7 separate regions of the Homo sapiens genome follow, and all the other regions are linked to region 1. Evidence: promoter capture Hi-C in 16 types of primary human blood cells and fetal thymus (Javierre and others, 2016). All regions are on one chromosome and are shown on one strand. The core of a region is centred on a gene start or on the middle of the fragment in contact, and the rest is flanking DNA. Distances in the headings are between cores, read along the strand shown. Region 1 holds the start of TRAPPC8 (trafficking protein particle complex subunit 8). Region 2 has its middle 6.4 kb from the start of DSG2. Region 3 overlaps DSG2 (desmoglein 2). Region 4 overlaps DSG2 (desmoglein 2). Region 5 has its middle 13 kb from the start of DSG2-AS1. Region 6 overlaps TTR (transthyretin). Region 7 overlaps B4GALT6 (beta-1,4-galactosyltransferase 6).

Region 1 (3,160 bases), core at 246-2,745:
TGATTGTTCCCCTACCCCATTTTGTCTGTTATCTTATGAAAAATGCAGACTCCCACATTCTTCCTCTGCCCATTTTATGTCATCTTATGTAAAAAATGCAGATTCACTGAGCCAGAGAAAGGCAAGAATTACTATTTTCTCCTACCGCCCCCTTACATGAAAACGGTGTGCTTCTCAATATCCCGCCCTTTCCCCTTTAAATTTGGAGCACTCAAAATCATCTTCGAAGAAAGGCATAGACCTGTTTCCTGGGCTCGTACTTAACTTCGGCAAATAAATCTCCTAAAGTGATGGACTCTCTTATAAATTAATCTGTAGCCAAGGCATGTCATCAATATGTCCTACTGTGCCTTCCTACCTCCCATTTATCAACTTACATGAGAAGCACACATCTTACTTGTCATAAATTATTACCTTAGTGAAAACCTGAGGGTGTCAAGAAGTCGAAAAATTTGAGACATTGACGTTGGGGAAGACACCTTTAATTAGAGCACCATAAAATCATGATAGAATGATACATTTTTCCTTGCCTTATATTTTTGGCATGCAAAACAGAAGGAGCTCAAACAATTGAGTGACACATTAGTAAAATTCCTTTCATTCATTTCTACTTACAAGGCACACACCATTGACCTCACCCCGTCCCCCCCTTTAAAACAATATTTGACCCGCGCCCCCCCCCCTTTAAAGCAATCTTTGAAAAGTTAGGAATGAAAGCCGGTTCAGGACAGTACACAGTACACAAATACTGGCTTCCCCTACCTCCACCACAAGCAAGTAAACATCCTAGCACAGTGTAAAAAGGAAGAGGCTGAGGACGAACCACGCGGACATTTGCAGGCACACCCCTTCCCTGCGACCAACAAAAATGCAGTAGCGCAATTACACTTGAAGGAATTGCAGCACTCACAAAAGCACACATTCTGTTCAATGGTTGAGTCCACATAAAGTGACAGTCCGTTTCTAAAAGCATGGCTGTATTTAAAGGACACATGGTCTGTTCAGGTCCGCTTCAGCGAAACCCCAAGCACTTCCGAGAGATCCACTCCCTCTCTCCGAGCAGGTGCCACTAGCTGCTCCGCCGGCGAGCGTAGGAAGCAGCGCGACCAACCAAATCGGTTGCCCACAACAGCCAGGGACGTCAAAAAGGCCAAACTGCGTGGGAAGCGAGCGTGCGCCTCCATCACCACGACAGCACCCGTCTCGAGGCTCCACCTGCCGCTAGTAGGTGGCTCTCAGCTCTGCTCTGCTAAGGGCGAGCTTGAGAACCCGGCCTACAGTTGTGCACCTCCCCCCGCCCCCGCCCCCGCCCCCGCCCCCGCCCACCGCACTTGTAGCCCCGCCCCGCCCAGGGAGCTTCCGTCACAACACTTCCGGCTCCAGCCTCCCAACCGGCCTCCGTCGTTTTTCACTTCCCTCTCCTCAGCTCTCTTCCCTTGCCCCTACCGTCTCCTTTAACACAGTCACGTGAGGGACGCGCGCGGGGGCAGCTGGGAGTAGTACTGCCGGTTGGTCAGGGTTCGGCCTCAACATGGCGGTTCCGGCCGGGCAGTGACCAAGGTTTTGCCGTCCGAAGGACTAAGTGGTGACTGTCGGCGTCTCCACCTATCGGGGTGGAATGCGAGCACGCGGGGACGAGCGCTGAGAAGCGGCGGTGACGGGAAGGGGGGGGTCAGTGGATTGTGCCCCAGAAACCGAAGCGGCGGCGTCTGTTCCTTCTTGTTTCTAGGCTCCAGTGCGTTCGGGGCCCCGCCCGGCCGGGCCAGGCCGGCGGGCGGCGGCGGTAGCTGCTGCAGCCGCAGGATAACCTCGCAGGGTGGGCCGGAGGGCGGGCGCCGCCGCTGCCTGTGCTGCGGCGATGGCCCAGTGTGTACAATCAGTGCAGGAGCTAATCCCGGACTCCTTCGTCCCCTGTGTCGCTGCGCTGTGCAGCGACGAAGCCGAGCGGCTCACTCGTCTCAATCACCTCAGCTTCGCGGAGCTGCTTAAGCCCTTCTCCCGCCTCACTTCCGAGGGTATGTGGTATCCTCCCTTTTCCAGTGGGCTCCCGCAAAGCCGTGGTCGGGAGAAGGAAGTTGCGGGCGGGCAGGGAAGAGAAGGGCAGTGTTTACGTCCTGGAGCCGGTACCGTGGCGTCTGGGGCTGTGGCCCCGCGGTGCTCCGGGGGCGGCTGGAGGAGGGACCGTGAGGTTGTCAAGACAGCGCAGTCCTAAGCTCCAGTTTCTCTGGGCACTTCCTTTCTTCCTCGGACAACCTAGGTCGTTAAGTAATTGGTGCAAAGATAAACGTGAGTCTTCGAGAACGGCATTGAGACTGTTCTCCACGGCCATAGCGAAGGAATTAGGCACTTGCAAAGCAGCTAAGGTAGGAAAATGCTGCCTCTTAGACCGACAGGGTCTGAGTAAGGAAGACCTGTCATCCTCCCTTGGATGTTAAACTGGACTTTGAAAGTAGTTGTGGATGTTATTACATTCTTGTAGCGTTGAGGGTCATCTCTGTCTGAACTACCGTGTAGCTGTTTTACTAATATATTCTTAGCTATACGGTATTTTGCTTAACCTCTCAAGAAAATTAAAAGTATTATAAGAAGAATAAAACTTGAAGCAGCTTTTTGCCCTAAGGAAGAGGAAGCAAGCCCAAGTTGTGGTTAATTTAACCTGGATATTTGGAGTTATCTATAGTTATAGGGATGGAAATGTCTTCTCTTGTTAATGAATGTCTTGTTAAGAAGCTACCCGTTTTCTCCAGTTTTGGATTTTTTTATTAGGAGAAAATAATGTGGTAAAGCTTCAAGCATGTTTTAGCCAATATCTTGCAAACAACAAAGTCCAAGTAAAGTTTTTTTTGTTAAGGTCGGTAAGAACTGAAGGGTTTCATAATAAGCCTGTGTCAGGCAAACGACTGTGATGTTTGTTAGCTTAATATGACTTATCCACAAAAAAAATCAGTGCTGTACCATTTTTGCGCTACCATGTTTTTTGGGAGAATAGTTCCATTATAAATTAGCTTTTGTTTTTAGCGGAGAGAGGGAGCTGTCCAAAAAAACAAAGTTTGGAAACTTTTGGATTTTCTTTAGCCTGTATCGTAGCCATCAGTCTCAGTTCCTTCAGTGTTGGACTTAAGAGCAACAAAATGCCCTACGTTTTTTATTTTTTTGTTAT
Region 2 (3,160 bases), core at 395-2,894, 450 kb after region 1:
CTTGTGGTGGAAAATGGCATGCTTTCGCTTTCAGATCCTGTTCGTGACGCCAAAAATGTTCTGTGTGGGAGACCTGTGAGGGGAGAAGCCACGCACAGTACTTTTAGGAGTAAACAACCTTTATCCCACGTAAATGGCAATGCAGATATAATAAACAAATGATACAATAAGTCAATGATATAATAAGAAAATTGATATAATAAGCAAATTGCAATGGGAAGGGGAGAAGGGAAAAGATATATATGTATATGTGTGTATATGTGTGTGTATATATATATATATATACACACACACACACACACACACACACACACACACATATACACACTCCTCAGACTATGGAGGATTCATCACCAGGCTGAGAAGCAACAGCCTGGGCTCCAGAGTCGGCCACTCATCTGTACACAGACAAGAAGATGTCTCTTGAAGCTTCGTTGCAGTCTGGGACCCTAGCTCTTTTTGTAACCAGTTGTTCGGCATGAGGCCCAGTCACGAGGGCCCTTCGAGACTGGGCTCAGATAACACAAAAGGTCAACTTGTTTTTGCGACTGTCTGTTGTTTTTCAATAACTAACGTATAGGTGTAGATTGAAATAGAGATTTCTTCGAAACAGTGCTGGATGAATTCCTCAAGGGGCTCACATGACCTGTTCTGGGACTTGGTGACCGTTGTTTGTGTCCATGTTCAATTGAGTTCAAATGTAATATCTAACTTTTTTTCCACACCTATATAAGCATAAAGGGTTATTTGGAGACTAGAAAGAGAGGTTTGGTATTAAATTTGGCTCAAATAGTAGAGTTCCTTCTGTGGTCCAAAATGCCCCCTCTCCCTCTGGTAGCATCTCTCACCCTTCTCTCCCAAGTGCCAATCTTCAAGATCCAGTACAGTCACCACCTCCTCATTACACTCTTTCTTCTCAGTTCCCCAAGGACCACTGCCTATTTGAGCTGAGAGAAGCACATTCTCCATATGTTTGGGGCTTAGCTGCTGAGTGGATTTTCTCATGCAGTTACTTAAGTGACGGTGGCTGAATTAGTTGAGGACTTAGCTCATTAATGTGCTCAGAAGTGCCCCAAACTGTGCTCTGTACTATGGGATACTCTCAGTAAACTTTTTTACATCATTGAATCTGGAGGAAATATGTCTTAATTTCCACTCCTTTCTCTTGAGCTAGATGTGGGTATTAGCACACCTTGGGGATACTTCTCGTTTGCCATCATGCTGGGAGCACTCCTGATTTAAGAAGTGAGGCTTTACCAAATCACTTGCAGAAATCATTGTAGGAAACTATGTGTCAGTCCTGCCTTAAATTTGTGCCCTTGCAATTGAGTCCTATAGAGAAGTATTTATGCCTCATTATTAAGTCTTTGGTTTCTATTCAGCAATGAAGATAATCATAGCTTCCAGAATGAGAAATAGCCAATGCAAACTTTATTTCTGTTGTATTATTCAACCTCCCCTGAAGGCTATCAAAGTTAGTTTCAAGGTAGTATTCCTTCTATAAGACATTTTCCCCAGGACTTTGAGAGAAGGTGCCAATATGTCATCCAGTGCCATAGCATGTCACTCCTGAATTAGTTCTACTTTAAAAATTCTAAAACTTATGACTCAGAGAGGTGAAGGAACTTCTTGAGAATCAGATGTTTCACAGCTAACTCTCTGGCTCCTAACTTCTTTATGCTGGGGTTAGAGTAAATCTGTTTCATACATCTCTGTGCACAAAAATAAATGTAGCCATTACCAACAAAGGACTAAGGATTTGTTTAAAATAAATTGAAGTCTTAACAGGATGTGAAAATTTTAACTTTCATGTTTTCCTCCCCCAAGTTAGTTGAACATTACGGTAAATGTACTTTTCTTAAGACATTTAGAATGGATTAGTTCAAAACATATTTTGTGTGGATAATAATTACCTTTAACATCTAGATATATTCAAAATATCTACCTGAATTTATGTTTTCCAGAATACTTTGCTTCACACACATACACAGATAAGAATAATCTTCAAGTGATTAGCTCATTAAAATCACCCCTTTAATATGATCTAAAACCAAAAATACTTTAAAGGGTTTCAGAAAGATCAATGAAAATTAATATATCTCTTTTCTACTAACACTGCTCCTTACTGCCAACACATCCTAGCATTAAATATTATTTTAAAAATGGACAGTTCTTTGCTAAAGGTCTGATAAGTGGCTGACCACTTAATTCCAGTGAAAATCTCATGAGTATATGTATTAGAATTAATGTTTCACAGGTGAGAGCTAAATCTGGTTGCTATCCTTTTAAAATGCTTTATAAACAAATCATAGAGTTGTGTAGCTGTTATAAAAAAAGGTTATCATGGTCAGGAGGATTACTCATAGAATGTTGATTAGCAAAGGGCATATGGACACAGGACAAAATGTGAAATACTCCCAGGTAATCTGAGAAGGGAAATATGAGGAGGAATCTGTTTTTTGGTTTAGTTCTACTAGTTTATTCAATATTTACCTTGTCCCTGTTCAACAAACATTTAATTTTCATTTTACTAGAAATGCAAAATTAAATGTTTTCCTGTATCGAAAGAAACAAGAATAGGTGCTTATAAAATAATATAACTATAATTACTTATAAAATAAAATAATATAACCACTGTGGTAGAACTACACATGCAGTATATGAACAATGAAGGTTTCCCACCTCACACTTTGGACTATGGGGTTAGAAAAGGCTTCTTGGAGGAAGTTTGCTGAAGTGATTCTTAAAGGATGAGTAATTGTGAACCAGGTGTTGAACCTGCCAGGGCAGAGTGACTCAAAGCATAGACACTGTTGATGAAGAGTCAGGGGCTTTCGCTTTAGCTGTGAAAAAAGCTTTCTTTTCATCATGTTGACACAAACAGGGAATCAGAAGTAAAAACTTTCCTTTTGGTAAAAACATGTTGAATTTGAGACATTAGAACAAAATCCAATTAGAAAAGCCTAGCAAGTCATTTGAAATGAGAAAGGACAACTGCATTGCAAATAGATTTGGGCAGCAGAAATAGTCACCTTATTTTGTTCCCATCTCACTGGCTGTTCTTTCTCAATCCCTTTCTTGCCCTCTGCTACTTGTAAAATGTGTGTGTCTTCTGAGTTCCAAACTTTGCTTCTTTTCTTCTTACTTAGTAGCAGGTATG
Region 3 (3,160 bases), core at 457-2,956, 430 kb after region 1:
AACCTTCCTATTTAAGTGCCTCTGGAGACTGTTGAGTGAGGAGGTGACATTTGGAATAGCTACAGCCATGCTGTGACCATGAGGGGAAAGCTAATGAAATGCTAGAGAAGCCAAACTGAAACCATAAAGGCTTTAAGTTACAGAATCGTTCAAATTTGGACCAACTCTCTCTCTAAACTTTTTCTTACGATTGATATTCAACATTCTTTTCTTTAACCTAGTTTTAGTTGGGTTTTGTTACTTGCATCTGAAAGCCACCTAACTAGGATACATCCATTTTGCAGGGCTGATGTGCAAATTAAAGAAATATATGAAATGTAACTATTGCAGTGACTGGCATTCAATAAACAGAATTTATGAGACATTTCCTCAATTCTAAGTTTTGCATGGTCCTTATCTTAAAATTTCTGCAAGTTTGAATTAATTCATACCCTCAATTTCCTGAGCTTGTAGGATATGTTAAGTAACACAATATTCTTACCCTGTTGGATGCTTACATACTGGGGAGACAAAGACAGACCAGGTTTTGATAAGAGCAATAAAAAAAATTAAAGCAGGGTCAGGATAGTAGAGAGTGACTTGGAAGTGTGGGAAAACTCTCAGAAGGGGCTGCATCTGCACAGAGACGTGAATGGTATGAGGAAGCCAGTCAGGCAGAGCCCTGCAAAAGGAACGCCCAGGCCATGCGGTGGTGAATCAGTGATGATGATGTCACAGGGATAGGCCAGTACCCAGTCAGGGAGAGGACTTTGGGTTTTATCCTGAGTGTGAGAGGAAGCCACTGGAAGCTTTTATGTTTGGAAATGATACAACCAGTTTATGTTTGAAAAAGCTCGCTGGTGCTACTGTATGGAGAACAGGCCATAAAGTGGCAAGAACAAATGTATAGAGACCAGACTGTAGTCATTGCATCATTGCAGAAGCACGTGCAATACATAACACTAGCTTAAACCCTGGGAGTTGCAGTAAAGATGAAAGAAAGTAGATATCTCCAGTGTTTATTTTGAAGGCAGAGGCAACAGAGACCTGTGAATGGAATGAATGAGGGCAAATATAGATGACCCTTAGAATTTTGACCCGGAACACCTGGGTGAGTGAAGGCACCATTTCCAGAGATGAGACAGAATGGGGAGAGGGATGGGGTAAGCTGAAGGTGAGGCAGGAGACAGGGGTGGTGTTGAGGGAGGGGTGAAATGGGAGGTAAGAGCCGTTTTTATGTGTTCTGTGTGAATGGCCTTTTGGATATAGGAGTTAGTAGCTCAGAAAAGAAGTTATGCCCGGAGATAAAAATTTGGGAGTCATCAGTCGGTTTTAGTTAAGGAACTGGGATGCATATTAGAGGTTTTGTACATCTTTAATGTAATGTTTCTTTTCTTCTCTCAAAAGGCTGGTATTAAATTGCTGAGCATCTAGGGAGCCAGCGTGACACAGGCAAGGCTAATCTGCTGTGAATTGGGACAGCGGCTATCAGGGGGATCGTAGGGACTGAAGGGAGCACAAGGGGCCTTCTGGGATGCTGGCAATCTGTTTCTTCACCTCGTTACTGGTGACATGGTGTTTTCAGTTTGTGAAGATTCAGTGCACTCGTGATATGTGCACTTTTCTGGATGTATGTTACACTAAAACATCAGAAGAATTGATGTGCATCTTAAAGTCAAGGTTGTCTTGGAATCTAGGTAAGAGGGTTCTGCTATCTGCATTTTTATAGCACGTATTGCAGTAGCATGCTTTTAGTAAGGTGTTATGGACTGAAATATTTGCTTCATTCATTGTACAAAAAAAGAAAAAAGAACTGCACTAACATTTTGTCAATTGTGGAACTGTCTGTTTATTTGACTGAGCAGTTAAGATCTCAGCCACTGCTTTCTAAATAATTTGGATCTGGTTCCTTAAGATCCTCTATCTCACAGAACACATTCTTAATTTAGACCAATCGTTCTCCACTAGGGGCAGTTTTGCCCTGCCCCGCTCCTCCTGCCACTGGGGATATTTGGTAATGTCTGGAGACGTTTCTGGTTGTCAAACCAGGGTGGGGCTCGAGGTAGGGGAGATAAATGCCAGTGGCATCTAGTGGGTAGAAACCAGAGATGCTGTCAAACATCCTACAATGCACATGATAGCCCTTACAACTAAGTGTTATCTGGCTGCAACTGGCCAAGTGCCGAGGTTAAGACACCATGGCTGCGTTTCTCTGATTGGAAGCTACTGTAATAACCAGGGTCAGGACAGTAATACAAGCTGCAGAGGACTGTGGAGATTCTGTACATCTCTAGTGGGTAGTATACTGCAAGTAACATGACTGGAACAAGCAGAAACTCTCTGCCTTAGTCCTCCATTCCCACTCCCTGGCACTTTTTAAAAAACCTGTCCACTCTGTAAGTTTGAGTCACCTCCTGTGGGGATGCTGTGAAGAGGTTTCAAGCATGGGAGGGGTGGCTGGACAAAATGGCCAATAAGGTTTCCTCCAAACACTAAATCTGTGACTTTTTTTCTCACCAGGAACTTGGTGACAGAAAAATGTCACCTGCAACATGACTTTAAGACTGACGAGGAAAAGTAAGCTGCTAGTTCCTGTATCCAAAGCAGTGTTTTCAGATGAACCAAAAAATTCTGCAAAAGCTTTTCTAATTTGCTAAACTCTAAAAAAAGTATTTTATTAACTAGTTTTGCTGCTTTGAAAAACATGTAAAAAATTTTTCTACCATTGGATCCTGCACATCTTATAAAAACTGGACTTCCTGGTATCTGGCAAAAGATTTTTTTTTTTTTCCTGCAGAGGCATGAGGGAATACCAAACACCATCAATCAATGTACTCTTTGTTTTCAAGGTCAGCACTTTTAGAAAAGACTTTCTGTTCTGAAGTCACCTTGATGAGTTTAAACAAGAATCCAGAAGGACTCATGAGTCACTGGATGACAGCTCCTCCTGGCTGACAGGTTCTCTGTCAGAAGTCTTTCCTTTAAAGTAGAGAATCTTGAAGTGTTCAGTGGTTTTATGGTGAGGTGATCCCTTAAACTTTAATAGATCAGACTAAGAGATACCTTATTAAAAATGGATGTAGAGAAATACAAATTAGTTTAAAACATTATTTCAACTTTCAGTCACTATAATGGCTTCTAATGTCCATTCAGCGAGAAATTACTAGAAGGTAAGCAGTGT
Region 4 (3,160 bases), core at 179-2,678, 410 kb after region 1:
TCTTCATAATCTACTTCCTGAAAGGGAAAACCAAAGGGAATTCTTTTCAAAGAGAAAACAGAAGACATGTATACATATACATATACATGTGTGGTTTTAATGTTAGATACAATAATTTAATGCACAGGAAATATAGCAGCACTGAATAGTCCAACTCTTATACTGACACCAAGCAAATAAAAATTCTGTCAATCTGGATAGTCATAAATGTTAAGGATGTTTAGGAAGTATTACCAATTTATTTTCCTAAATGTTGAAATTACTGTAAATATATATATATATTTTGTTCAGGCATGGTGGCTCATGCCTGTAATCCCAGCACTTTGGGAAGCCAAGGCAGGTAGATCACTTGAGCCCAGAAGTTTGAGACCAGCCTGGGCAACATAGGGAGTTCCCATCTGTACAAAAAAATACAAAAATTAGCTGTGCATGATAGCTCGTGCCTGTGGTCCTAGCTACTCAGGAGGCTGAGGTGGGAGGATTGCTTGAGCCCAGAGGGTTGAGGCTGCAGTGAGCCATGATCATGCCACTGCACTTCAGCCTGGGCAATAAAGTGAGACCCTGTCTCAAAACATACACACACACATATCTATAGATATGTGTATATATATTTAACAATCTGAAGTGATTTTTTTTCTAATGTAAAAAATTAGTGGGCATTCAGTATAAATCAGTATTCCTTAAAATGTGTTCTATGGGTTTATTTTAGTGAAAATAAGTAGTGGTAGCTCTGTGAGCTCTGTCCCTCTAATATAGCTATATATTACACATTAGCATATTAAAATACTTGAATTCCTGGAGTAAAGAAGAAACCTAGAGATTTTCAAATCTGTTTAAACAAAGAACCCCACTCTCCTCTTTTTTAGCATAATACCTATTAATATCTGGTTTGCTGTTAATTCCATAAAAGATTAACCTTTCTTCAAATAGTTCTTTGTAATAGCACAATTTCCATTTGAAATAATCAGTTCATTACTGTATACATATTTTATGTTCCAACTTTTCAATGTTTCTTTTTATAAACATTTCCATAGTATTCTACTACTTAGATATAGACAGTCATTCTATAATTAGGCATTTGGGCTATCACAATTTCTAAATGTAATTAATACTGCTCTCAGCATTTTTATACACATTATTTTTCCTCTGTTGACCTATATCCTATTACTAAAAGAACTACCTAAAGTTTACTTAGGTCCTGTTGCTTTTTATTTCCAGTATCTCTGACCATTTAGATGCACTAAACATTTTTGCTTGTTTCTTCAGTATAAAATTAAATATATTAGGCATGTTTACATGAATTACAGCAAAGCTTTTCACTTGTGTTTTGGAGAATTCATTGTGAATTTCCTTCCTTTGGAGCTACCACTACTTATTTTCACCAAAATAAGTCAGTCAGTTTTCCTCTCTATTGGGCTCTGGATGGATCACAACTTCTGCACCCTTTAAAAATATGGATCACTATGATGTTGAGACAAGGACACAGGAGAAAAAGACTAGAGAAAATACATCCTTTGTGATTGTAATATCTTTGTGAAAGCTTGTTAGTTTATTTAAGTCACTCTTGCACTTGACATGCTTGTTTGATGGCATGATATATGCCGGATGAGAAATAAAATCTTCCAGCCAGATGTCATTAGTATCCAAAGGCCAAGACCATGAAAAAATAAATAAATAAATAAAAGCTAGGTATTGGGGCCATAAGTGTTTCATAGTGTTAGTCATAAATAGCCATAATGCTCCAAAGCAAATGGAAAATTTTCAGTATCAAGAGCGCTGTGTGAGGGAATAGACCTCTATTTTTTACAACTCTGTAAACTTATTTTATCATTTCCATTTTTGCTATTTTTTAATAACATTAAAGATTGTAAGTTTATTTGTTAATTTGTTAACAAAGCTGTGAATTTTTCTCATGTGACTATTTACTATCTCTATTTCCATATTTAAAAATATCCGTTCATCTCCTTTATCCTTTTTGGACAGCTTCATTCAGGTATAACTTATATACAATAAAATTTGCCCATTTTAAGTGTACAGCATGATGAGTTCTGGATTTGCAATCATCACTATGGTCCAGTTTTAGAACACTCCATCACCCCCAAAAGTTCCTTTACATGTGTTTGTAGTCAGTCCCCACTCAGACTCACCACTCCAAGCAATCCCAGTCTGCTTTCTATCCCCATTGTTTCACCTTTTCTAGAAATTTCAAGTAAATGGAATCATGTAATATGTACTATTTTGTGTCTGGCTCCTTATACATAGCATAATCAGCAAATTTTTTTTTTTTTTTTTTTGAGATGGAGTCTTGCTCTGTCTCTTAGGCTGGGATGAAGTGACGTGATGCTGGCTCACAGCAACCTCTGCCTCCCGGGTTCAGGCAATTCTCCTGCTTCAGCCTCCCAAGCAGCTGGAATTATAGGCATGCACTACCAAACCTGGCTAATTTTTTGTTTTAGTAGAGTCAGGGTTTCACCATGTTGCCCAGGCTGGTCTCAAACTCCTGAGCTCAGGTGATCCCCCAACCTCGGCCTCCCAAAGTGCTGGGATTACAGGCGGGAGCCACCGTGCCCAGCCCATAGCATAATGTTTTTGAGGTTCATCCGTGTTGTAGCTTGTATCAGTACTTCATTCCTTTTTATTGCTCATTAGTATTCCATCATATGAATACACCACATTCTGTTTATCTACTCACCAGCTGATGGACATTTGGACTGCTATTAGTTTTTTTTATTATCATGAATAATGCTGCTATGAACATTTGCATACATGTCTTTGTATAGACCTGTTTTTATTTTTCTTGGGTGGAAACCTAAGAATCAAATCATTGGGTCATATAACTACTCTTGTGTAACTTTTAAAAGAAACTGTCAAACTGCCTGCATCATGTTACAATTCCACTAGCAATCCAGTTTCTCTATATTTTTGCCAATAATTGGTGTTGTCAATCTTTTTGATTGCTATTGTCTGAATGTTTGTGTCGCCTTAAAACTCACGTGCTGAAATCCTGACTCTCAAAGTGATGATATTAAGAGTGGGGCTTTTGGGAGATCCTGGGATCAATGCTCTTTCAAAAGACGCCTAGTGGAGCTTGTTGGATGTTCCACTATGTGATGATACAACAAGAAGGCACTGTGTATAAGCCAGAAAGCGGGACCTGCCC
Region 5 (3,160 bases), core at 426-2,925, 370 kb after region 1:
GCTACCCCTGTCCCAAGTAGAAGACAAGCTGGGGTCTCCTCTAAGTAGTCAAAGGGAGGGTGGGGTGGAGGAAGGATCAGGAGCTGTGAGGCAGACAGACCTCGTCCAAACCCTGCTTTTACCACCTTCTGGGTGTGCAGATGAATCTCAGGTCTCCCAGAGTCTCTGGTTCCTCCTCTGCATTGCTGAAGATTGGTAAAGATTGGGAAGAGCAAGGCCTGGAAAGCACGGCTTTAACAAAGAATCGGCTCTCAGTCTATCCTTATATTTCTTCACTTGAATGGCTTCTTATAAAACCTCTTTCTAATATGTTGCCTTCTTTCAGCCAAGTCTTGTTCTTTGTCTCCTATATACTATTTATCCCCTTTATCCTTGTATCTCCTCAAATCTTCCACCTGACAGCTTCCCCAATGATAAACTTCTTGCATCGGTGCGGTGCATTTGTTGTAACTGATAGCCAATATTGATGCATTATTCTCAACTGAAGTCCATAGTTTACATTAGGATCCACTTTGTGTTGAATGAGGTTTTGACAATTGTATGATAACACATATCCGCCATCACCGTATCATATGGAATAGTTTCACTGCCCTAAAATCCCCCTGTATTCCGCCTAGTTATCCCCCTCTCTTTCCCTACCTCCCCTGCAACCCCTGGCAACCACTGGTCTTTTGACTGTCTCCATGGTTTTGCATTTTCCAGAATGTCAGATAGTTGGAATCATATAGTATGTAGCCTTTTCAGATTGGCTTCTTTCACTTAGTAATACGCATTTAAAATTTCTTCATGTCTTTTCATGGCCTGATACCTCATTTCTTTTTATCGTTGAATCGTATTTTGTTGTGTGGATGCACTACAATTTGTTTATCCACTCACCTATTGAAGGGCAACTTGATTGCTTCCAAGTTTTGGCATCAACTATGCCAAATTATAAATAAATAAAGCTACTATAAATACTTATGTCCAGGTTTTTGTGTGCAGGTTTTGATTGGCAGCTGGAATGACTGACCTAGCTTTAAGAATGATCTTAGCTTCTCCAATTATATGTGTTTATTTTAGCATGGTTTGCATCATCTACTACATACAGAGATTTCTCATTTCTCTGAGCTAATGCTTCCTCGTTTAAAGAGAAACAATCATTGTCATATAACTGCAGGCATGGTGGCTTATGCTTGTAATCCCGGCACTTTGGGAGGCCAAGGCAGGAGGATCGCTTAAGGCTAGGAGTTCAAGACCAGCCTGGGCAGTGTAGTGAGACCTCATCTCTACCAAAAAATAATTAGCTGGGCATAGTGGCATATCCCATAGTCCCAGCTACTTAGGAGGCTGAGGCAGGAGGATTGCTTGAGCTCAGGAGTGTGAGTCTGCAGTGAGCTGTGATCAAGCCACTGCACCCCACCCTGGGTGGCTGAGTGAGACTCCTTCTCAATTAAAAAGAAAATTTAAATGAAAGTCATATAACTTGCAGAATTCTGGAGTTCGGGAACCTCTCAAGGCCCAAGTCCACACAATGTCCTTCAGCTTCCAGGCTTGATTAGACTTAGGGGACTCTATCACTCTCACAGCAATTAGCAACCATGGAGCTTTAACCCAGAGAAAGATCTCACATGGGGGTTTCTGGAACATGGCAGGCCATTCATAGCACTTGGCCATAGGCTAGCTCCCTAGTGACTTTCAATCCCACTGTTCCTTCTCCTAAAACTGGCTCAAGCAAGGAGAGCTTCTCACCAGCTAATGCACCCCAGAGCACTGCTCAGGTTTAGGTGAACAACTGTGAGAACTATTAGGGAGGAGTTTTTACTGGTGGGGGACCTAATCCACATGTAGACCAAGAGGGAAATGCCTGAATCTTGTTTGTCCCTCCCTATTTAGGCAATAGGGCTGTGGAATCAGTTTCCTGATCATTCTGCTGACTTAGCCCTGCCCTTTACTTTTACTTGAGGGCTGAGATGGTAAGATTATCATTTTCTTTTCTTTTCTTCTTTTTTTTTTTGCACTCCTAGGCGTGATCTTGGCTCACTGCAACCTCTGCCTCCCGGGTTCAAGCGATTCTCCTGCCTCAGCCTCCTGAGTAGCTGGGATTACAGGTGCCCACCACCACACCCAGCTAATTTTTTGTATTTTTAGTAGAGTCAGGGTTTTGCCATGTTGGGCAGGCTGGTCTTGAACTCCTGACCTCAGGTGATCCACCAGCCTTGGCCTCCCAAAGAGTTGGGATTGTGGGCATGAACCACTGCACCCGGCCATTCTCATTTTCTATCTGCTCCTATTTTTACACAGCCATTTCTTCTCTTCTAACTTTTAATTGCCTCAATAAAAAAGGATCTTGCAGGCCAGGCATGGTGGCTCACGCCTGTAATCCCAATACTTTGGGAGACCGAGGTGGGCAGATTGTTTGAGGTCAGGAGTTCGAGACCAGCCTGGCCAACGTGGTGAAACCCCGTTTCTACTAAAAATACAAAAAATTAACCGGGCATGGTGGTATGTGCCTGTAATCCCAGCTACCCAGGAGGCTGAGGCAGGAGAATCACTGGAACCTGGGAGGCAGAGGTTGCAGTGGGCTGAGATGGCACCACTGCACTCTAGCTTGGATGACTGAGTGAGATTCCGCTCAAAAAAAAAAAAAATAAAAATAAAAATAAAAAAGAATCTTGCTAGAAATAACTCCCCTGGATGGAGGTATTAGTAAACAAAATTAGCGAATACATGTTGTTCCAAGCTATTAGGTTTTTCTGTTTCTTATTATTTTTCATTCTTTTCAATAATTTTAGTTAACTTTCAATGAAAATAAAAATATGGTCCCGAGGTCAATTGGGATTGATTTTCTTGGTTGATTGAATTAAAATGCCCCTTTCTTGAGTTGCTAGTATCAGAAATAAAGGAGCCGAGGTGAGCAAAGGCAAAAATAAAATGAAGCAGACGCCTTTTTCCAAGTGTATAGATAAAAGAGCCCCAGCGACACACACATTCTAACAAGCTATGTGTGAAAATGCACGTATATATGTGTCTACATTTATAAACCTGGATGTCTAGGTGTCCTACTCCATTTTGTGTTGCCATAAAGGAATACCTGAAACCGGGTAATTTATATAGAAAAGAGGTTTATTTGGCTCATAGTTCTGTAGGCTGCATAAGAAGCACGGTGCCAGCATCTGGTTCT
Region 6 (3,080 bases), core at 265-2,764, 350 kb after region 1:
TATTTTGGAACAGTTTGAACAGAAGGAAAAAGCTCAAATATGCTGGCAAGCTAAGCCTTTGGAACCATGCACAGTCCTTAGAGCAGGAGTACAGAGTCAGGTCTTGTTTTGCAAATTCACGCCGAAAGTCAGGATGACCCTAGCTTGACTAAGGGAAATCCCAGAAAGCCTAAAGGCTGTATCTATTTTATTGGTTTTAGAAAAAAAAGGTAGGGAGAATGCAAAACTGCATTGAGTCATTGAAGAGCTGCTGCAATAGTGGCTGCCAACCACAGACTTAGAGATTTAGCATTCTGGAGCTGGAAACATTCTTCCCAATTTACAGATGAGCAAACCAGACTTGAATTATTGTATTGTCCCAGTCTACATTCTGATGGAACCATAGTAGGAAGGCAAGTCTCCTGTCTCCAAGCCCAGAGATTCCCCCACCCTCCTATTCTTTGCATTTTCTAACATGAAGAAGAAAAGTATATTTTTATGTATAACAAGCAATGAAATACGAAGTAAAAGCATTACAGGGCTCTATTTACAATACAGAGTGTGGAAGATCATGGTGGAATTTTGAAATATATATGCATGCACTAGAGCTCATTTAAGCTTTGTAACTGGGCAAATTGTGGATCAAAATGCTGTTCCAGATAGTCACACAGTTCTGTCAAATCAGTAGAATATCTGCGACTCAGGTGCTGGGACAGCCTTGGTTCTCAGAGTGAGGCAAGTTGGGATATATTGAGGTCAGGAAAGAGGTAGAAGACAGTAAAGATGTGTTTAATTTGATTTATTTTGTATACAGGCCTTGGGTTGAGGTTTGGACACACTCTGCATAAATACATTTTGTTCTAAATATGGGAAAAAGAAACCCGGATTACTTAGGGATAGGAGGAAAAAAGGATCTGAGTGAGCCATACCAAAAACAAAAATAATACTGGGGCAAGAGGAAGTGAGAATCACCTAAGAATCTCTTAGGAAGAAAGGGCTCCCCTTAAGGCCAATTCCCTAGAATCAACTAATAAAAATGTCTTTTGTCTTATGGTGACATTGACCTTCAGCCCACTTGATTCTTCTTAAAAATTGTAAGAGGCATAATCTGTAATCAAAAATCCATGAAGTAGCCGGGCACGGTGGCTCACACCTGTAATCCCAGCACTTTGGGAGGCTGAGACAGGTGAATCACCTGAGGTCTGGAGTTCAGACCAGCCTGGCCAACGTGGTGAAAACCTGTCTTTACAAAAAATACAAAAATTAGCCTGGTGTGGTGGCGCACACCTGTAGTCCCAGCTACTCGGGAGGCTGAGGCAGGAGAATTGCTTGAACCTGGGAGGCGGAGGTTGCAGTGAGCTGAGATTGCACCACTGCATTCCAGCCTGGGTGACAGGGCAAAACTCCATCTCAAAAAAAAAGGAAAAAAAAATCCATGAAGTGAAGAGGCCTAAGAGCTCCTAATAAAAGTTTCCATTTTCCCTTGGTAAATCTACTATGACCACCTGGGTCACTGGCCAAGGTAGAGTTGACCAGTTCTGAAGGAGGCATTTATCAGAAGAAGCTGCATGAAGCCCACCACGCACCCGTCACCAAAGTGAGGCATTGGGACTCATCTCTCACTACTCGCTCTCTCTTGTTCTCCGTATTTATCTGGGCTTCAAGCTGGGCTGACGGTCCTGCTTAATCTGTCTTACTTCAGTCCTTTCCCTTCCATTCCAAGGGTCGGGATGTATTTTCATTTCTAAATCCACAGCATCTAGCAGAGTGTTCCACACATAGAATGCTTTTTTTTTTTTTTAATGTTTGTTGAATGAATACTGCAAGAATGAAGAGCAGACAAGGAAGCTAAGATCTAATGAAAGAGAACAACATGTGGGCAGTATGTCAGTGAACCTTTTTATATGGTTCCCATCAGGCTGAGACCCAGCTCTTGGGCAAACAACAGTCTCAGGTAGGCAGATCTATTACTCGAGGGTAGGGGCTGAGACTCTAGGGGCAATGTCTTGTGCTGGGCGCCGCCGAAACCCTGCTCCTGCCCTGACTGGGGTCCATGTCTTGCTGCTGGCTGAGGGGTAGTCAGGGACATGCTCCTTGGTAGATGGGGCTCTCTTGTTGACTTGTGGGCCCCAGAAGTCAAACAAACCCCTGTTGTTTCCCTGGTAACATTGTCTAATAAAGGAACCACTTTATAGCAATTGAAAGTCTCATCCATGACTAAGCCAGAGAATAGTTCCCTTTCATGCCGAGCTATTTTTGATGGAATTAGTTGATCTTTAACTCTGACCAACATGTCTGGATTCTATTTCCATGACAGCCATCTGTTTCAAATGACTTAAGAAATTAAGGAGAAGGCAGGGGGACTGGGTCCATGTATAACTGTTTGAAGATCCTCACCATAGGCAGGGGAACAGAGCACGTTACAAATGTGGCTTTTCTTTTTTTAAGCTTGGCTTTCACAAGGGAAAAAGTTTCCTGGGGCATAATGCGAGGCATAGCAGAACTGAGGGCAAACCCAGCCTGGGCCTTAATTGTAAACATTTCTACTTGTGTATTTCCTAGTCTTGTGACCTTTGACAAGTTATTTGACTTCCTGGTGCCTCATTTTCTTCATCTATAAGATGGGGATAATAATAGGACTGACCTCAGTGGCTTATTCCTGAGGATTAAGTAGGTTAAATATGGAAAACACTTATAATTGTGTCTGCCACATGGTGTATGCTTGGTAAATGTTATCTATTGTGTTGCCATTATTACTTTGATTTTATTGTCTCTATAGGTATGTGTTGCCAAGAATCACTTGTCCAGACCTCCGAGAAGCCAGATGTGTTTTGGAATGAAGAATGTTACGGGTTTTCGAGAAATAAAATGGTGCATCTCTTGTTACATACACTCTACGTGGGGTCTGGAGGGCTGCCTCATAAACTATTATTTCAACAGCAGATACATCAATATTCATATAAAGTGGAATGAATAGACTATGAGTAGTTTCATGTAAGTTCAAGTCATGTTACTAAGTGGATTTTCATCAAAGTCAAAAAGAAATTTGCTTCTCAGAGTGTTGTGAATTTTTTCTTGTATAATAGGAAAGGGAACCTTTG
Region 7 (3,160 bases), core at 175-2,674, 300 kb after region 1:
GACACTCAGTTCTCCTGCTCTTTCCTTTCTAACCCCAGCGCCACCTTCAAAATAGTGAAATTCAGTATTTGGTAAATTATATTATTTACATTTGCTGATTGTGATTACACTGCTGGGTAAATGGATTTCAGTCAACATATTTATTTTCTGATCTTTAAATCTCTAACTGGGAAAGAAACCACTTGTGCCAGTTAAAAATCTTAGATTTATACTATTACATCTGGGATTAAGAACAACAACAACCAATCTCAGATTCACCACAGAGGAGAGTGAAGATTGGCTCTCCATGGAGTTCAGTGGATCTCTTCAGTTGCCCTTGAAATCTCAGCGAGTGAAATAAAGGGGACTGGCCCAGTTGATGGTGTCCTTCTTTACAAGAAGGACATTCCCTCTCTAGCTTCATTCATAGCAGGTGGTTTTCCGATGCCTTTTGTTTTGTTTTTAAAGCAGTGGAAGGCTTTCTTGAGTGAAACCTAAAGGGGACAAAAGAGTACGCGAAAGAGATGAAAGTGGCTGTGTTGGGGGAGCCTGAGTCCTCCCTTCTCCAACCACAGGATCCCTGAGAGAGGTCCTTCCCAAGGACGGTTTGGAAACCACACCATCATTAGTTTATCTGCAGCATACTTCTTCCTGGCCACTCTTTTTATAACATGACCTTTTCCCTTCCCTTCCTATGTACAGGATCTTCTCCCTAATACCACTCCCCACAATGATGAATGTTTGTTCTTCCTCTCTCTGATCACACTTTCGCTGTTCCCAGTGGTGGCAATACTTGTCCTGGGAGGCCTGTCCCCTACACTCCCCAGTATAGCGATGTTGCTCTTATCATGGGTAGCATGCCACCAGGTCAATCTTTAGCCTTCAATGAGCAAATTACTAGGATTTCAGAGCAAAGGGCAACAAGCACATAGGAAAGCTCCTGATGGACTCTGAGGGGTGTGGATGGGGTGGGGGAGGTGCACAACCCCGAGGAGTGTGAACTTAGGATACCTCAGGCATGGGGATAGTGATGGACAGAGGAAGCCCTCTCTATTGAGGGAAAGAAATAAAGCCTGTCTCTTGCCAGCACATATGCGTTGGAGATGGAAATTAAACTGCAAATGATGCTGGAGAAAACTGCTGACAATAATGATGATTACAGCTGTTGAAGCAATAAAGCTGGAAAAAAGACAAAAAATGTGGTTTAACAGTGCAGAAAGAATACCAGCTTCAGTTACTTATATGAACTGCTTATTATTTAGCCTAATTACTATCATTTTAGCAATCATGCATACTATTAAATGTATCAGATTTATTTGTGTAAATTTTATTTGATTACAATGTTAGATTCTGTTCTTTGTCAGCTGAGTCATGATAGTCTGTACTTATGTTTACTGATCAATCTTACATTTTACTTACTCTTTCTCTGCAAGTTCATAGGTTTCTCTTTCTTTTAGATGAATCTGACCTTTCTAAGATTAGCTAGTTTGTGTATCTTGTCACGCTGAAGGCTGAGTGTTTGGTTATAAAAGACTGCTTATGTTGTCAGTAGAACAGGCAGGCATTAGAAGATTGCAATTCTTTTTCTAACTTATTCTGGGAAGCAGGTATTTCGATGTAAAATACTCTAGCATGCCTGCGTGGAGGCTACAGACAGCTCTGCCTGGTTAGGATGAAGTGGGGACAGGAAGAGAGGCCATTGTGAAAACTCCTAAAATATAGAATAGCAGGAGCAAAGAGGCTCTCTAGAGAGGAACTGAGTGTTTTTATATGAAATTGTGGCCACATGAAACTCAGAAGACTCGAAATGGGAAACCTCAACATTTGTTGGTTTGTATTTTATGAGATGAGGTCAGAGAGAAGAATTTGGCTGGAGGGCGCTCCAGAGCAATTTGTACCTATTTGGAAGTTAACGGATGACATTAAAACTGCTAAAAGATGATCTGTAGTTTCAATAGCCTTTTACATCCTGTTCTAACAGTGAAGTCATTGAAGATAGCATTGCTTTGAAGGGATGTTAGTGATCATGCAGCTATTTTAATTCAGGGGGAGATAAAGAGGCTTCTTGATTCTTAGTTCTCTTTTGGGGTTAACGGAAGTGGTTTTCCATTCAAGATTCATTCCTGTTTCAATGGTATACATTAGAAAAGCTACTAGTAAGAACACCTCCAGTAATGTCATATATTTGTTAATTTGGAGAATGAGTGCCTGTTAGACCAGGAATACCTCAGAAGTGGTTTTTCAGTTTTGTATGCCAAGGGGCCTGATATATGGTAAGTGCTCAGAATCAGTACTTTGAATTATGTTTGCAAATTCCCTCTCTTAAGAAATGTCAGTAGGTAACAGTAATAGTAGCTAACATTTGTTGGTTGTACCTAATGCCTGACACGGCATATGATCCTTCACACAGATGATTTCTTGGAATGGATACAACCACCTTGGGAGGCAGACATCACTGTCCTTTTTACAGAGGAGGAGGCTGAGGCACAGAGAGGTTAAATCATTTTCCCAATAGACAGAAGCTAGGAATCAGTTCCCAGTCAATCTGACTGCTTATTTCATTGTTAAGTACTGTGCCATTGTGTCCCCTGTGTTGAAAATGTTAAAATTAAAAATGGTATTAAAATATTTGAATAGTTGTTAAATTGCAGTGTTAAGTTATAATGACATGCAAACATTTTCCAAATAATACTAAATTATTCAATATATTACCCAAAAGCAAAACGGTTTTTAAAAAGAATTTGATTTTCTTTGGCCGATTTACCAAACATAGAAGGGTGACCATATATATTATCATTGAAACTAAAAGTGAAAGGGAGCGCTATTCATAATTTTGTGGTGGTAACAGGAGTAAACTGTATTGTCCTGGCAACTAAGATATGCCATCACCCTGCTGATTATTATTTGTTCTACTAGATCTTTGAGGCAAAAAATATTAAAACAATTCTTTACATTTTTAATTTGTAGGAGGATTCCTCAATGTCAATGTAAGCGAAGTCAGTTTTGATGAAATTCATCAACTCTTCTCCAAGGATTTAGATATTGAGCCAGGGGGTCATTGGAGGCCAAAAGACTGTAAACCCAGATGGAAGGTGAGGTAAATTCTTTTCATAAGCAATTTGATTGTTACTGAGCATTTGAGGAAAGAATGTGCTTGATTCAGAATACAGAGACAAATGTC

The links. Contacts are between HindIII fragments. The CHiCAGO score rates a contact against its expected background, and 5 or more counts as called.
Region 2: a fragment that was not itself captured here is called in contact with the fragment with the promoter of TRAPPC8 in region 1 in 1 of 17 cell types (fetal thymus); the score reaches 5.8 in fetal thymus.
Region 3: a fragment that was not itself captured here is called in contact with the fragment with the promoter of TRAPPC8 in region 1 in 1 of 17 cell types (fetal thymus); the score reaches 6.5 in fetal thymus.
Region 4: a contact is called between a fragment that was not itself captured here and the fragment with the promoter of TRAPPC8 in region 1, in 1 of 17 cell types (fetal thymus). The highest score is 5.6, in fetal thymus.
Region 5: a contact is called between a fragment that was not itself captured here and the fragment with the promoter of TRAPPC8 in region 1, in 3 of 17 cell types (fetal thymus, megakaryocytes and M0 macrophages). The highest score is 7.5, in fetal thymus.
Region 6: a fragment that was not itself captured here is called in contact with the fragment with the promoter of TRAPPC8 in region 1 in 1 of 17 cell types (fetal thymus); the score reaches 5.8 in fetal thymus.
Region 7: a fragment that was not itself captured here is called in contact with the fragment with the promoter of TRAPPC8 in region 1 in 1 of 17 cell types (M1 macrophages); the score reaches 5.4 in M1 macrophages.

The regions. Positions count from the first base shown.
Region 1 is chr18:31,941,463-31,944,622 of GRCh38, reverse strand. It overlaps TRAPPC8 (trafficking protein particle complex subunit 8), which reads left to right and starts at 1,495. Exons shown (of 29, transcript NM_014939.5): 1 at 1,495-2,015. The coding sequence starts at 1,859. RefSeq lists enhancers at 1,511-1,720, 1,822-2,600 and a silencer at 1,771-1,890. The HindIII fragment of the contact is 12,839 bases long and covers 1-2,788 here.
Region 2 is chr18:31,490,224-31,493,383 of GRCh38, reverse strand. No RefSeq gene overlaps it. Among named protein-coding and RNA genes, the nearest start is that of DSG2, 6.4 kb to the left of the region's middle. RefSeq lists an enhancer at 3,041-3,160. The HindIII fragment of the contact is 2,426 bases long and covers 432-2,857 here.
Region 3 is chr18:31,510,200-31,513,359 of GRCh38, reverse strand. All of the region lies in intron 1 of DSG2 (desmoglein 2), which reads right to left. Among named protein-coding and RNA genes, the nearest start is that of DSG2, 14 kb to the right of the region's middle. RefSeq lists an enhancer at 2,037-2,106. The HindIII fragment of the contact is 1,831 bases long and covers 791-2,621 here.
Region 4 is chr18:31,527,844-31,531,003 of GRCh38, reverse strand. It overlaps DSG2 (desmoglein 2), which reads right to left. Exons shown (of 15, transcript NM_001943.5): 9 at 1-17. Among named protein-coding and RNA genes, the nearest start is that of DSG2-AS1, 27 kb to the left of the region's middle. The HindIII fragment of the contact is 228 bases long and covers 1,315-1,542 here.
Region 5 is chr18:31,568,648-31,571,807 of GRCh38, reverse strand. No RefSeq gene overlaps it. Among named protein-coding and RNA genes, the nearest start is that of DSG2-AS1, 13 kb to the right of the region's middle. The HindIII fragment of the contact is 5,620 bases long and covers 1-3,160 here.
Region 6 is chr18:31,595,374-31,598,453 of GRCh38, reverse strand. The region is part of intron 3 of TTR (transthyretin); the gene reads right to left. It overlaps LOC124904277 (a long non-coding RNA gene), which reads left to right. Exons shown (of 2, transcript XR_007066326.1): 2 at 2,759-2,876. Among named protein-coding and RNA genes, the nearest start is that of TTR, 5.0 kb to the right of the region's middle. The HindIII fragment of the contact is 1,830 bases long and covers 600-2,429 here.
Region 7 is chr18:31,645,266-31,648,425 of GRCh38, reverse strand. It overlaps B4GALT6 (beta-1,4-galactosyltransferase 6), which reads left to right. Exons shown (of 9, transcript NM_004775.5): 4 at 2,947-3,071. Among named protein-coding and RNA genes, the nearest start is that of B4GALT6, 38 kb to the left of the region's middle. The HindIII fragment of the contact is 4,430 bases long and covers 1-3,160 here.